3 separate regions of the Homo sapiens genome follow, and all the other regions are linked to region 1. The links are contacts of gene promoters, found by promoter capture Hi-C in blood cells and fetal thymus (Javierre and others, 2016). All regions are on one chromosome and are shown on one strand. The core of a region is centred on a gene start or on the middle of the fragment in contact, and the rest is flanking DNA. Distances in the headings are between cores, read along the strand shown.

Region 1 (5,097 bases), core at 1,105-3,604:
CATATATTACCTTTTTCAGGGAACTTGGATAAATTTCTAATTAATAAACTTCTATAATAATTAAATAATTAAAGAAATACTTTTAAAATGTTATTTATAAGAGTAAAAAAGGCATTAGAAAACAAGAAATTTGATGTTTGGACATGTATTCTCTATATCTCACATGGAAGAATTAGAAACTGTAGCCTAGGGCTCCCCAGAATGAAGTAATTGTCTTGAAATTTTCCATAATGCTCAGATAAAGAAGTAGGGTGATTTTACAACCTTGTCTACATGCAAATTATGACCAATAATATTCTGAATTAAGGCCATCTGGTTTTGTGATTACTTACAAATAATATTGAGCTGAATTCACAATCAGTTCACAAATAGCAGTTGGGCTAAGGAATTATTAATACTAACTAAATGAGATGATACTATGTTGAATCAGAAAAACGAACTGGTGAAAACTGCAAAATGGACTTTGAAAAAAATATTTAAAGGTACATGACTGTTCTTTCAATATGAAACAAAAACTTTAAATGTTCCATTCACAAAAAAGCATTGAGTAATGCCATGCGATTTATTAGCTCTACATGATAAATCCCCCAAGTTCACAAACTGGGCTCCTGGCCACCTAGCAAAGAGGACTTGCACGTAATTCCATGTGTTTTCTGATTGACTGGTAAATTGTTATCAGTAAGAGTCTGATAATAAGACAAGCAATTCTTTTCACTTCTAAAGAGGCAGAGCTATTTCGCCTGCAACTTTTTTGTTTTCTGTATTTTTTTAATTCACAAAAGACATGCAACACCTGCAACTTTAAAAAGTGAGGCATCCATAGGCTCTATACCCAGCCTGACCTCCTCTGGAGCTCCATCTCATGAAGTGCTTTAAACCCTGGCACACCAAAGAATCCCAAACTCATGCCACCACCTACTAAGTCAGACTCCAACAAAGAACTGGAGCACTTTTGTTTCTAAGTGACCATCAGGCACCTAATATTATTTTCCCTTCAGTAAAATATAAGTGATAATCCTTGTCCTACCCCACTAATGATGTAAAAATAATATAACCATACAGTAAGAAATCAAACATGCTTTGAAAAATTGCAGCATAGGGCTAAACAAGAGCCACTGCATAAAGCAAAGAAGTTTTGAAGAAGAAAGGGATCTTGAAGGTTGTTATTTCCAGTTTTTTCATTTTATGAAGAAAGAACCTGAAACAGGAGGTAGACATTTGCCCAGACTGGATCACCTACTGAGAAGTAGAGTTTGGTCTCCTGACCCTTTGTCCAATGCTTTTTCTACCAAACTACATTATTAGGATTATTCCTGTTGCTTTTGTTATTAGTGATGTTAAGAAGCACAAGACTATTTTTAGATAAAGAGATAGACTGACCTAGCAAAGCAGCCATACTCCTTCTGGGTAAGAACCGCTGGTCTGCACTGCAGAAACTTTGTTCTTAATAACCCTGGTGTCCTAAGAAGTCTATCAAGAGATGAAGAGGTTTGCCATTGTGCCTTACAACTTTTAGATAATTAAATGCCTGGGAAATCTTATTTCAAGATCAGGCTAGCGACGAGTATTGAGACAAACAGAGTTATTCATGAAAACGTTAACACTGAACCCAAAACTTAACCATTCTAAACACCAGTTTCTTCCACTAAAAAATAAGAAAGCTGGGGTAGATCATCCCATTGAATGCTAGTGTTGTATTAATCTATGTTTCATTAAATTTAGTATGTTTCATTAAATTTAGTATGTTTCATAGAAAGTTCAAGTTTTATCGAATCATAATACTTGCTACCTAAAATGTTATTCATAATTTAAAAACCAAACATAACCTTGCAGGGGGAAAAAGCTGATGAATGTTAAATTTACAGTTTTTAGAACTGAAATCACCTAGCACCACCATTTCACCTCTTGACTGCTCTCTGCATTCTCCTCTGATTACTTTTACTGTACTTTTTATGTTGTTACAATAAGCATGTTTGTGTTTCCTGTGCTCTATTTTATGCTATGTATATATTTTTGCATTAGCCCAGTCCAAACATAAAATGCTATGCGAAAAAAGACAAATGAAACTGCTCACATACCCCATGACGATCTTCAAAGTATGCCAGGCTGGCTTTGGTTAACACAAAGAAGCGGACTTTAAAGTTCGAGGGAGAAGTTCTTCTCTTTTGTTGGGATTTCTTGATGAGCTGTTCTTCCAGGAGGATAAAGTTGTTCATGATCCAGTTCTTGAAAGGTGGTGCACCTTGGGCATCACCTCTTAGCACAACCAAAGGAAAGAGTTTTGGGGCAAAGAATGCAATGTGGAGGCAGTTGATCTTCAGAGAGCTGCTCAAGGGCAACTTGCCTTCAACGTTATCTTTCTATCAACGTTCAGCCAACATAGCTGAGCTTCTCCTCTGATGTCAAAGGCCGAAACCACATCCTTTCAAAATTCACAAAACGAGGAGGCATATGTAAAAAATACATACAGCCTTTGCTAATGGCTTGAAATGATATTTGAAAAACTGTAAACTCAAAATTGTGGTAAGGATTACAGTTTAATCTTTATAGTTCCTGGTTTAATCCATCCAGCAGTTAAATCATGTAGCACAAGGAGTAAGGACAATGTGTGGTTTTGCTTACCATGATATACTCAGCAACCATCACAGTACCTGACACATAAAACAGATGTTCAAGAAAAATTTGTTGAATGGATCATCACCAAATTGGGTTGGACAATTAAAAGAGGTAATGAGCACAAAACCCTCACACATTAAAGTGAAGAAATATGTTGCTGAAGTTTATTAGTTTTTAAGATTTAAATTAAAGCCCATAGAAATTTCTCAATGCTACATATAGATGACTGCCTTTCTGTCCTGACGTTTTGTGGAAGAGTGAAAAATAAGTGAATCCTTCAGAATGGCATAATAAACAAAGTATATGTGGGCTTTGAAAACAGACAAACTTGTGTTGGATTCCCAGCTCTGTCACTTACTATGCTGTTTCTCTTTGAGCAAGCCATGACTTCTCTGATCCTTAGCTTCCTTGTGAGGGTCCTTTGGAGGACTGAATCCCATACATCTTATGAATGGTAGGTGCTAGTCATACATGTCACCTTAGAGTTAGTACATAGTTGAAGTATAATGTGTGACAGTTACCTCTACTATGTTAATAATCAAGAGATTTTAGTGTAAGCAGATATTGCATGTAGTGGGTAGGGATAAATAATAAATGAAATAATAATTATTGCTGTATAGGAGTGAAATTCTCCAATGTTTATTTTTAAATGTAAATTACCAGACAACAGCCTAATTTTATTTCATATACTGGATGCCCCAGCATAATCAAGACACCCAGGAGGGTACGGTACTGGTATATTTTAAATTACCTCCCCCATTCTGAGATTCTTAAGACATATGTGTGGAAATACACTGCCCAAACAAGATAGTATTTTTTTTTTCTGAGTATGGGCTTGAGGTAGGGATTGCTACTATTCCCAAATAGCTACTCTCTCCTTCTTACTAGAGTAACAGAATCCCTGACAGTTATCTGGGCATCTGGCCAGCAAGAATAAAGACTACAAATTTTAGCCTCCCTTGTAGCTAGGTGTAGTTGTATGACTGTCTTCTGGTCAACTGAATGTAGCAGAAGTCGTGTGCACAACTTCTAGGAAATTTCCTTAGTGGGATCTGTCATCCCCTTTTCTTTCCCTTTTCCTCCTGCCTTGTGACTAGAATATTGAGGTAACAGTTGGAGCTGAAGCAGCTATCTAGTATCATGAGGTGGAAATTGAATGTTGAGGACAATGGAGTATAAGATAGAAAGAGCCTGGGACCCTGGTGACCATGGATCTTCCATGCCAGCCCTGGATTACATTTTTTAATATCTATTTTCTAAGTCTCAGTTATTTTGAGGTTTCTGTCACTACCAGCAAACCTAGATAATACAGTGCTATCTTCTCAAACTAGACTACAAACTCCTCTGAGGAAAGTACATTTTACACCTGCTTGGTTCAGATGAAAAGAGTTATAGACTTCACAAAGTGTTCTCATCCGGGAAAACAAAATATCATCAGTAGCTGTTGCAATACTTAGGAGTCTTTCGTTTGCTCAGTCTACATGGAGTGTCATCGTAAGTAATTTTATTCTCTTTCTCATAGAGCCATCAAACCCACTAACTGAGACTCATCTTTGCCAACTTTTAAATGCAAACTTAGGAGGCTCAATATTTTTTTCTCACTTTAAGGAAAACATAAACAAAAACAAATAGTCCCTTTGTTTGTTTTGGTTTTAAAAAGTTCACTTCATAGGAGCCAAATTCAAGGAGTTCCCACTTGCCAAAGATGGAACAATTTGAGTATCAAAAGGAATAATAATTGCCATGAATTGAAGAACAGCAAAAATGTTAAAACAATGAGTTCAAAAGAGAATTGAAAAAAGCATCCCAACCTTTTGATCACTTTTGGAGGATGCTGAAGAACCAACTTGTTTTTCTGAAAACTGGAAACAAAGGAAAAAAATAAAACATATTGCTTGCTTTTCTTGAAGAATTATCTTTCAATTCAGTGATCAAGTATTTAATGAGGAAGTTCTTTTTTTCCAAGAAACTAATCAATGAAGGAGTGACAGAATACTATCGTTTTGCAATGCCAATGAAATAATAAATGTAGGCAATGATCATCAATGGCTGTTAAAATTATTACGCAAAAAGCCAATAGGAAAATGTATAACTGTCATATGAAGCTGACAACACTGTAACACACTGATTAATCTTAAAAGAAGGACAACCAGACATTGTATGTCTCCTGAGGTGAAGCAAGAGGAAGTACACAAAACTGGCAACTCGGGAGTCTTGCCAAGAGAAAACAAAATCAAACACAAATCTAATCAAACTTCGAGATATAAATTCGAGTTTACAGGAAATACAAGAGATAAACGAACCTGACAAATGACACTGTGGAGATGCAATTGGATGAGTCCAGAATACAAAACATGCTAAGGACAAATGACTCAGTATCAGTAACAAATAAGTCATAGAGGGCAGGGCACGGTGGCTCATGCCTGTAAGCCCAGCACTTTGGGAGGTCAAGGGGGTGGATTGCTTGAGCCCAGGAGCTTA
Region 2 (5,097 bases), core at 714-3,213, 170 kb before region 1:
AATGGATATCACTGGAGGGGACAAAAAGCAATCATCTACTTATATTTTCTGTCTGATTCTCTGACTTCTTTTCTAGCTTGTCTGAGTCCATAGGATGGGCTTTGGGGTGGGCACACCTCAGTTCAAATTCTAGGTCTGTAAATGCACTAGTTAGATGCTCTTGGGCAAATTACCTAAACCCTCTAAGCCTTAATTTCCCCTAAGTAGAGATGATAATACCAAATCCAATAGGGTTGTTTGAGGTTTAAATGTGATCACATATATAAAGCAGTCAGCATGGTGCCTGGCACACTGGAAACGCTCACTGAAAAAATAGCCATTAATATTATTTTGTTTGATGACTTGGTAAATAAAGACAAAAACACAGCTTTCTGGTCGAATTTCCCCCAGCAGCTTTGGCGACAGCTACGATTCTCTGATTGTAAACAGGGGAGTGCATATGTGGGGGGTAATTTTATGCAACACAGCATGTACCCCACAAAGTGATAGGACAGAGGTGAGAGCCAGGACTAGTTGATAGAATGCACCAAAAAATGCATTTTATTCAACATTAAGAACATCATAAAAATGGGAGATGTTCAGTAACAGATTGTACTGGGTGGAGTTCCTCCTCACTGCAGGTATCTTATAACAACAGGGTTGTTATAAGGGGTCCCATCAAGGGCTGGAAGTGGGGATAGACGTGCTCCCTCTAGAGGATCAAGCTGAAACGCATTCTTCCTGGACGCTCATCCTTCTGAGTGGTGTCCTAAACCCTCACCGCCACCCAAGGAGCTTCTAGTACCAAGCTTCCCTGAACACTTCCTGGCAAGCACAAATAAATACACATTTACATATATGGAAACTGTTCAGCAGGAATTCCCAGATCTAGGCAGAGGCGGAGAATAGTATTGGAACTGTTTTACCACGTAAGGATTTTTAAAATGCCCCCTACACACCCACTCGGTTCACTTTGGAGGCCCCTGATTGACATTCCTATGTCAGTCTTGGATTCTGGTCTAGACTGGGAGTTTAGGCTTCAGTTGATGGTCCAAGATGCATTTCATGTGAGAAGGACCAGCATGAAATGAGGAGAATTCAAATCCTCCTCCTAAGATTAAAAAAAATCCCCCCCGACCCCTCATTCCCCCAAATATACCCCACGCATGCAAGAAGAAATGCACACGCATGCTGAAAAGTACACACACACTCATCCCCGAAGGGCACCCATCTGACCTGCTGGCTCAATAGGAGGCTGGGCCCTATTGAGAAAATGTGGGAATAGGGGAGCCTGGGCATTTTCTGAGGGTTGGCAAAGAAAAACAAGAATGCAACATGACATGAGCCATTGGAAACTTGCCATTGAACCAATTCTGCTAACTGATAGGTTCCAATCAATGGGCCTCATAGGAAACTAATTATGTATCCTGCCTGGTTAGGATGGCTCACTTAAAATTAAGCTTATTTAAATCCACACTACACAAAATAGATAGCTTTATGAGATCTCAAGAAATAAACAACCCTGATTCAGGAATTAGAGCCATGTTATTACTGTGTGACGCAGACCTGCATTTTCTTAAAAAAAGCAAAAAAGCATTTTTAAGGAGAGAAAAAAATATGGTGAGTTTAATCTGGCAGATCCTGGGCACTGTAATATTATCTGTAGATGAACTTTAAAATGTTGTGGCAAAATATACAAATAAAATTCACCATTTTAGCCATGTTTAAATGTTGTATACAGACTTTTCATCTATCCGTTGAGATAGGCCTCTATCTCATCAGATGGTAAACACGGCCAGCCACTTCAAACAGTAAGGCCTATTTACTTGGTAAACTGAATTTGTAAGCAATTTGCATCTCTGCTCTCTGGAATCACAATTGCTGTTTTCAGAGATCCCAAGAGGAATTAAACTGTTCCTAATTTCCTATTTTTGTTACAATTTCTCTAATGGATATCATCAGCCCGCAAACACAAACACAGCTCTCTAATTTAGGTGGAATGGCTGCAGCTCAATTCCCTAAAATCACTGCAGGTAAATAAAGGCGACGGCAAAAATAAAACAGCAGCATCGTCCTTGTCGGGAAGATCACAGAGCAAGACAGTGCCAAGGACTGATCAATTCTCAGTTCCAGGATCAAATCCATTGTAAACGCTTGGGTAAAACTACTAATGTGTCTATGTGTCTGTCTGTCTGTTCTTGACATTTGGGGGGCCATAGGGCTGGGTCTCCAACATCTGGGTTCCTTCTTGGCCTTCTCAGCTCAGAGGCTGAAAGATCCAAAGAGCTGCTATGCAGATCTCAAGAAATGACGCTCCTTTCTCTCCTGGGCTATGAATAAGGTGCGTTGGAAAAGGCAAGCAGGGGAACAGGAGCCGAGCCTTCCAGCTGAGAGATCACATCAACACTGTCACACTCAGAGATGCTAAAACTTTTGAAGGGAACCAATGTCATCACTTTTCTTGATAATCAGTACTCATGTGATGACACACAAGTATATCAAGCTTCTCTGTGAATTTTTCACATACGAATTCCGTCACAGCCGCCCACATTGTTTTCTGTGGCTGCTCTAACAATTACCACAAATTTGGTGGCTTCGAACAACAGCAATGTATTCTCTCAGGCTTCTGGAAGCCAGAAATCCAAACTGGTATCACTAGGCCAAAATCAAGGTGTCGGCAGGGCCACATTCCCTCCAGAAACTGCAGGGGACGATCTGTTTCCCGTCTCTTCAGCTACTGGAGGCTGGCGGCAATCCCGGGCTTGCAGCTGCACCACTCCAATCTTCCCATCTCTCTGCTGGGTCTTCGTATGGCCTTCTCCTCTTACATGTGTAAGCTCCCTCTGCTTCTCCCTTATGACACTTACGATAGCATGTAGGACCCAGCATAACCCAAGATAATCCAGGATTATCTTCCCATCTCAAGGTCCTCCAGTTAATCACATCTCCAAAGACCTCTTTCCAAAGAAAGTTACATTGACAGGTTCCAGGATTAGGACCTGATGTCTTTGGGAAACATTCTCAGCCTTCTAAACCAGGTAAGGCAGTGCAAGTATCCCCATTTAGCAGAAGTGGAATCTGAATCCCAAGTGTAATGAAGTGACTTGTCTGGGGTGAGATACAAGATGAAATTCTGCATAGGAAATTCCATATGTATTGGTTGCCAAAATCACAAAAGCCTTCTGGACTGGTGGGTAAACTACCTTGTAGAAGTGGTACCATGCAGACAGAAGGGTGGGGTGGTGGCAGGGAAGTGGGAGGTGCTGTTGGTGGTGGTGTCACAGGGACCAAGATTCCCCTGGTCAGCCCAGGCGGGCAGTGTTGGCATCCAGGTGTGTACCCAGCTGAGCTGTGCCCAGCTTGCTGCAGCAAAGCACTGGGTTCTGGGTCCTAAGGATATGATTTAACAAGGGAGGCACTGTGGTAGTATGACGGTATGATGCATTTGCCTGAGGTCAAACTGTGCCTCAGATGGGGGCTTGTGACAACCAGGCCAAACAGATCACACCAACAATTTCTAAGGGCCAAAAAATTACCAGGAAGTTATTGGAATAATTGAATGAATGCTTTATGCCGCAATCTATGTCACTTGGAAGGCAGTTTTAGGATAGACTCTATATAATTTACTTTATTTAGAGAATATATTCTTAAAGTTTTGATTCATATATTAATTTTGATTACTTGACCAGTTGTTAAAGTTTTGTTTTATTGAGCATCATCTCTAAGTGACAGAGCTCTTGCACAGAAGAACTTAGACTCCAGAGTAGGGCCTGTTCAGAAGAGGAAACACTTGCTGGTCATATTTCTCCAAATGAGTTGATGTCTTCCCTGACGCTACCACATCAGGTGGTTAGATGTTCTCTGTAAGAGCTTTTAGTTCTTCACCTGCTCCAGCATTCTGGAGTCCACCATACTATGAAGTCCTGGCCCTACCTCTCAAGGGAAGCTAATCACAAAGCAAAGGGCTACTATGGACTGAAGAATCACAGGTTACAGGATGGTACAAGCAGAGCAGCAGAGCATCAAAGAGGCCAGCCAGGATCTCCAGCTCTAGTGGCCAACAGGCCCAGGCTTACACCATTGTTTGCCAGGACCTTGCTTTGTGAGAGCAGCCAAGCCGGCCCCGCTGAGCTTCAGTCTCTCCCGTTGTACAATGGTGATAAGAAGGCCGATCTCAAGGAGTTGTCATGTGGTTTGTAAAACGAGAACACACATGTTAAATGCAGAAAAAGTTCCCAAGTTTCTGAGTTGTATGAGTTTTACTGTCATCTTTGAACTTTTCAATATTATTTATGTACAATGAGCATATACATTAAAAAATAAAACCAATAAAAGTGATTTAAGAGAGGAAAAGCAAGGAAGTGCTATGCAATTCAGGGTGTAAACTTTGCTCATTATAGCCTCTGGATGAAGCTATGACCAACTCAGGAAATGGCTCTGAACCACTGACCTTTTCTTCTTAATAATAACAGCTACTATTCGTAAGCCCAGGACTTTACAGACATGGGTTCATCTGTTACAAATAACACTACAAGACAGGCATTATAATATTCTCATTTTTAAAGTGGGGGAATTTCCCCCGAGAACTGGAACAAGACAAGGGTGCCCACTTTAACCACTTCTATTCAACATAGTACTGGAAGTCCTAGCCAGAGCAGTAAGACAAGAGAAAGAAATAAAGGGCATCCAAGTGAGTAAAGTGGAAATCAAACTGTCACTGTTTGCTGATGATATGACTGTATACCTAGAAAACCCTAAAGGCTCATGCTATACACCAACACCGACCAAGCTGAGAATCAAATCAAGAACTCAACCCCTTTCACAATAGCTGCAAAAAAATTAAAATAGTTAGGAATATATCTAACCAAGGAGGTGAAAGACCTCTACAAGGAAAACTACAAAATACTGTTGAAAGAAATCATAGATGACACAAACAAATGGAAACACATCCCATGCTCATGGATGGGTAGAATCAATATTGTGGAAATGACAACACTGCCAAAAGCAATCCACAAATTCAATGCAATTCCCACCATCAAAGTACCATCATCATTCTTCACAGAACTAGAATAGACAATGCTAAAATGAATATGAAACTGAAAAAGAGCCCACACAGCC
Region 3 (5,097 bases), core at 801-3,300, 160 kb before region 1:
AATGAAAGAAGACCTAATTGTTAACCACATTCAACTGTCAACCAGCTCTATGACCTTAGGCAAGTGAGACAGCACAAAGCCTGTGCCCAGGAGGGGCTCTGAGAGACACCTGTTGCAGGAACCACTCACACATGTACTGGGCCTAGTTTGGAGGAGGCAGCTGGCCACTCCCCCAACCCCCACCCGGCCCCCTCTGCACAGGGACTCCCTTACCGGTTAGTGGACCCATTGTAGCAGTAGTTGGGGAGAAAGTCAAAGTTCAGTTCCCAGAAGACATGCAGGGTGATACGGCCATAGGGGGCGGACACATTGTGATTGGCCTCTCGGAACATGGCATCGAAGCTGTCCAGCGTCATATGCTTACAGAGCAGCCGATGCGTGAGCCGGTTAATCTCCAGCAGCCACTCCAGCTCCTGTACAGAGAGAGAGCCCACAACTGCTGAGGACTTGCTTGTAAGCATTACATGTGTGTGTTTTATCTTACTGCTTCTGTTCACGCAAGTGACAGCTGCTCAGACAACCTCCTGGCCATCTACATGGGAACTAGGACCCTTACAGTAGCAGGTGACAAGGTTCCCTTCTGAGAAGTGGAAGGATTGTCAGACTACGCTGACAGAAATGGAGGCCCAGAAGGTTAAGGGCAAGGTAGGGGAAGGGGAGGTTGCACGCCTACCCCCTGGAAGGAGACCATAGACCATGTGCAAATCCCTTTTGGGTAGAGAACAAGCTTACTTGCTTTCCAGTTTCTATGTTGGTGAGAAAAAAGCAATACTAAGAGCTACCACTAATTAAGGGTTTACTATTAGGTTGAACCCTATGACGTTACTTGTTTTTTAGGGCCAAATATTGGCAATTTTGCCTGGTTCAACCAAATTAGTATGTGCCAGTTTTATATGTGTCAACTTGTTTAATGCTTATCAAACCCTATGAGGTCAGTATTGCTGCCATTCTTATTTTATACATATGGAAACCGAGGCTTTGAGAAGTTAAGTAACTTGACTTCAAATCCAGGAAACTGGGCTCCCAAGTGCACATTCTTAACCACTATATGCTCTAACTGCTATAGAAGTTTTAAAAAGAGGTGGGAGCAGAATGCCTCATCCTTTGGAGTGTAGGCCCCTTGAGGTATCACATGGGGTTGGCAAAGGCGTGGCTACAAGCCATGGGCAAGCAGTCTGCAGTCTGCAGTCAGCTCATGATGACCGGGATCTATGTGCACTGTGGGCCCTGAACGAAGGAAACCCATCTTCAGGCAAAGTGGGACAGAGTATCTGCACACAGCAGGACATGGCATTTGTTGGGAAATGAAAGAAGAGTGTAACTCTTTCAACACGCTTTGGACTCTCATTGTCCTGCAACTTCCCCGCCACTGCTATCAAAAGGAATCAAAGTACAGTCTTATGTAGAGACAGAAAGCACCTTAGGCCACTCCTGTGCTGTTTTGGTTAAGCCATCTTTTAGGATCGGTACAATGGTCCCTCATTCAGAGAGGGGAAATTGAGGCCCTGAAGGTTAAGTAACTTGCCCAAGGTCACCATAAGAGGCCTTAGGATGTGAATCCAAGTCTCCTTATTCCAAATCATGTGTTCTTGGTCCCTGTGACACAGTTCCCTGGAACAAGGATGCAAGAGCTGTGAAAGTCCTTTGAAAGGCAAAGATGGCTTTACAGCATAAAGGCTAAAAGAACATCGGCAAGGCCAATTCATCAGAGCATGGCCGGGTGGGATGACCATAGGGTCGGCTGTAATGGCTGGAATATGTCCACAGGAGGCAGCCTCATGCCAAGGATTCAATTTCATTCTCATTAGCCACAAAGACCCCTAGATGGAGACCAGAGCATGGTCAGGTGGAGATCCCAGGCTATGCTTCCAATTTTTGGAGCTCTGCCTCTCTGAAACTCAGATTCTGTGGCTCTAAGTTGAAGTGTGCAGAAATGGTTGAAGGCTTGCAAACACACATGGCTAAAGAGACCAGACAGGTCAGGTAAGTGAGATCAACTGGGGTGAAGAGAAAGTTTGGGGAGTGGGTCCATCTATGGCAAATTGGATGTCCCTGCCCAGGTAAAGGTGGAGCTGCTACTTCTGATACCCCGTCTGACCGCTGCCATGTTGGAGTGGGGGATTAGTGATGGCAAATCCTGCAATTTTTCAAAAGAAGGTCAGAATTTCAATTCTGGAACAGCATCGGAGGAATAAGTTTCCAGTCATTGTGTACCATGAAGTAAATGAAGGGCGGAAATACAGAATCAGCTTTCTGATTCTGTCTCTTGGGGGCCTGGCTAGCTGGAATATGTCTTTATTCTGATTCACTTAGGATGGGTACTAAATAAATAAAAAATACATGGAGTAAGTGGCGCTGAGTTTATTTCTAAGATCACTGAGTCCCCTGGCACACTGTGGTGCCTTGTTACTGGGAAGACAACTGAGAAGCTGGGGAACAATTTCTGTGTTATCGTTCTGTGACTTCAGCAGTCTCACAACATACATCCGTGTTCACAAGGGAAACTGAAGGAGAGGCAGAGGCTGCTGCAACCACAGGTCCACTTCTCCCTGCACAGTATGTAACCCAGACGATATTTCTGCAACACATTTCGGATTTGTTCTTCTGGCCTTGAAACCAGAAGAGGGCATGTGCCAGCTGGATGCAGGGCTCAACGCACCAAAGCATGGAAAAGGCTTAAAAAGCCATGTGGGCAGTTTAGGGGTCTCCTAAGAGGATGACACTTTTCCACAGCAAGGCTGGTTTACTAAAGGGCAACACAGAGAAACAGAACTGGGGCAGTAAAACACCCCAGTGGGCAACTTCAGAGTAGTGGGAGAAAGAGCTCATCAACGAAAGAAGACCTGATTGTTAACCACATTCAACTGTCAACCAGCTCTGTGGCCTCAGGCAAGTGAGAGAGCAAAGGTCTCAAACTCAGTACAGTGAGGCCTCGTAGGTCACACACATAAATGAAGCCTGCCACTGAGGCTGTGGCAAGCTGAAGAAAGTGTAGCCCATCTCACAGGAACTTCTAGTCATTTATGGGCAATCGTTACCATCTGGGAATGCTGGTCTGGCATTGCCAGAGCTTCTGCAGTTTTATTTGATTTCTTCCAAATGTTAAACATTGGCTCAAAATTACAAATGTACTATGCTGCCTAAACAAAACACAGCCTGCGGGCTGCCCGTTCTCAACTTCAGCATCGGGTCTTGCTGAGACTCTGTTTGCTCAGCTGTGTAAAATGAGGGTGACTAACTCCCCAAATCTTTGCAACCTCTCCCAACTCAGAATCAAGTTGCCTCCCCATCTCAGAATGGAGTTTTTCAGGTGGAGGGAAAGGCTGAGGGGAGCTCATTCCTCATTTTGTTTCTTGGAGGAGGTAGAAGCTTCTCAGCCAGGGCGAGCAGGGGCCATCCAGACCCATCGGAGAGCGCTTCCCTGAGGTCTCTTCATGGGCTTCCCAGGAACTGGTGTTCTCTGGGGAGCCACTGCCCTCGCCTGATAAGCAAGGGCTTTCACTGCTTGTTTTGATTTTGTTCCCAGCTAAAAGAACATTTAGTGCTTTTGGACAGGTGGGAAGAGGCCATGGAGACACACATATCCCAAATCTTTTTTTTCCCATAAGATATGCTCATTATTGGAAAACTAGAAGATACAGATAAACAAAAAAGAAAAAAAAATCCCGCCACTTGGAGCTAATCACTGCTAACCATTTGGCATAAAGAATAACTCTGTTTCTCAAAATAGAGGTGACCAAATGATTTCTCAGAAAAATGTGTGCTGTACTACAGTCTCCTGGAGTAAGTGACCCAGGACTTAGGTGGGTGGGTAGGTCAAGCCCTAAGAAATCACCCAAAATCACTGCATTGCAGCCCCAAATTTATTTTTCTCTCATCTTTTTTCCATAAGCTATTATTTATTAAGTGCTAACTATGTATACAAAAGACTCTTGGGAGGCCAAGGCAGGCAGATCACGAGGTCAGGAGCTTGAGACCAGCCTGGCCAACATAGTGAAACCCCATCTCTACTAAAAATACAAAAATTAGGTGGGCCTGGTGGCACATGCCTGTAGTCCCAGCTACTCAGGAGGCTGAGGCAGGAGAATTGCTTGAACCCTGGAGGCAGAGGTTGCAGTGAGCTGAGATCACGCCACTGCACTACAGCCTAGGCAACAGAGCAAGACTCCGTCTCAAAAGAAAACAAAACAAAAACAAACAAACAAAAAAACAGGTAGTATCTCATTTTATCCTTATAGTAACCCTAAGAGGTGGATTCTGATATTCCCTCCATTTCTATAGATAAGGAAACAGGCTTGGAGAAGCTGAGTAACTTGCACAAGATCACACAGCTAGTAAGTAGCAGGGAGAGGACTGGGACCCTAGGTATGATGTTAGAGTCCCAGTTCACTGTCACTTTATTTTTATACTTTGTCCACTTAAAATAAAAACCAACTTTATTTAAAAATAATGTTAGACTTACAGAAAAGTTGTAAAAACAGCATACCCTGCATATCCTTTACCCAGCTTCCCCACTGTTAACATCTGGCGGAACCATAGTGCAATCATCAAATGAAGGAAATTAACTTTGGTACAACACTATTAGCTGAATGACAGGCTTTATTCAGGTTTCACCAGTTTTCCCACTAAAGTCCTTTTTCTGTTCTAAGATTCAATCTAGGATTCCATGTTGCATTTAGTTGTCAGGTTCCCTTATTCTTTCCTAATTTGTAACAGTTTTCAGTCTTTCCTGTCTCTCAAGACCTGCGCACTTTTGAAAAGTATCATTCACTTTTTTTTTTTTAAATGGAACTCGATTTGGGTTCATCTGATATTTTCTCATAATTAGATTGAGATTGTGCATTTTGGCAAGAATATATGTTGATAACAATAATATGTCTTACTGGTAATATTAACTTTGATACTTGGTTAAGATGGTGTCTGCTAATTTTCTCCATTGTAGAGTCATTCTTCCCTTTGTAATTAATAAACATCTTGGGGGAGATACTTTGAGACTATGCAAGTATCCTATTTCTTCTCAAAGATTTTTTGGTTAAAAAAATTTTGTTATTGTGGTAAGATGTACATAAAATTGAACATTTTAACCATTTGTAGGTG

What was found. Contacts are between HindIII fragments. The CHiCAGO score rates a contact against its expected background, and 5 or more counts as called.
Region 2: a fragment that was not itself captured here is called in contact with the fragment with the promoter of ITK in region 1 in 2 of 17 cell types (activated CD4 T cells and non-activated CD4 T cells); the score reaches 7.2 in activated CD4 T cells.
Region 3: a fragment that was not itself captured here is called in contact with the fragment with the promoter of ITK in region 1 in 8 of 17 cell types (non-activated CD4 T cells, activated CD4 T cells, naive CD4 T cells and 5 more); the score reaches 13.1 in non-activated CD4 T cells.

Annotation. Positions count from the first base shown.
Region 1 is chr5:157,178,097-157,183,193 of GRCh38, reverse strand. ITK (IL2 inducible T cell kinase) reads right to left here and starts at 2,354. Exons shown (of 17, transcript NM_005546.4): 1 at 2,079-2,354. The coding sequence starts at 2,216. The HindIII fragment of the contact is 39,229 bases long and covers 1-5,097 here.
Region 2 is chr5:157,350,598-157,355,694 of GRCh38, reverse strand. The region is part of intron 23 of CYFIP2 (cytoplasmic FMR1 interacting protein 2); the gene reads right to left. Among named protein-coding and RNA genes, the nearest start is that of FNDC9, 7.5 kb to the right of the region's middle. The HindIII fragment of the contact is 1,043 bases long and covers 1,442-2,484 here.
Region 3 is chr5:157,334,373-157,339,469 of GRCh38, reverse strand. CYFIP2 (cytoplasmic FMR1 interacting protein 2) reads right to left here. Exons shown (of 31, transcript NM_001037333.3): 22 at 214-413. Among named protein-coding and RNA genes, the nearest start is that of FNDC9, 8.8 kb to the left of the region's middle. The HindIII fragment of the contact is 2,642 bases long and covers 730-3,371 here.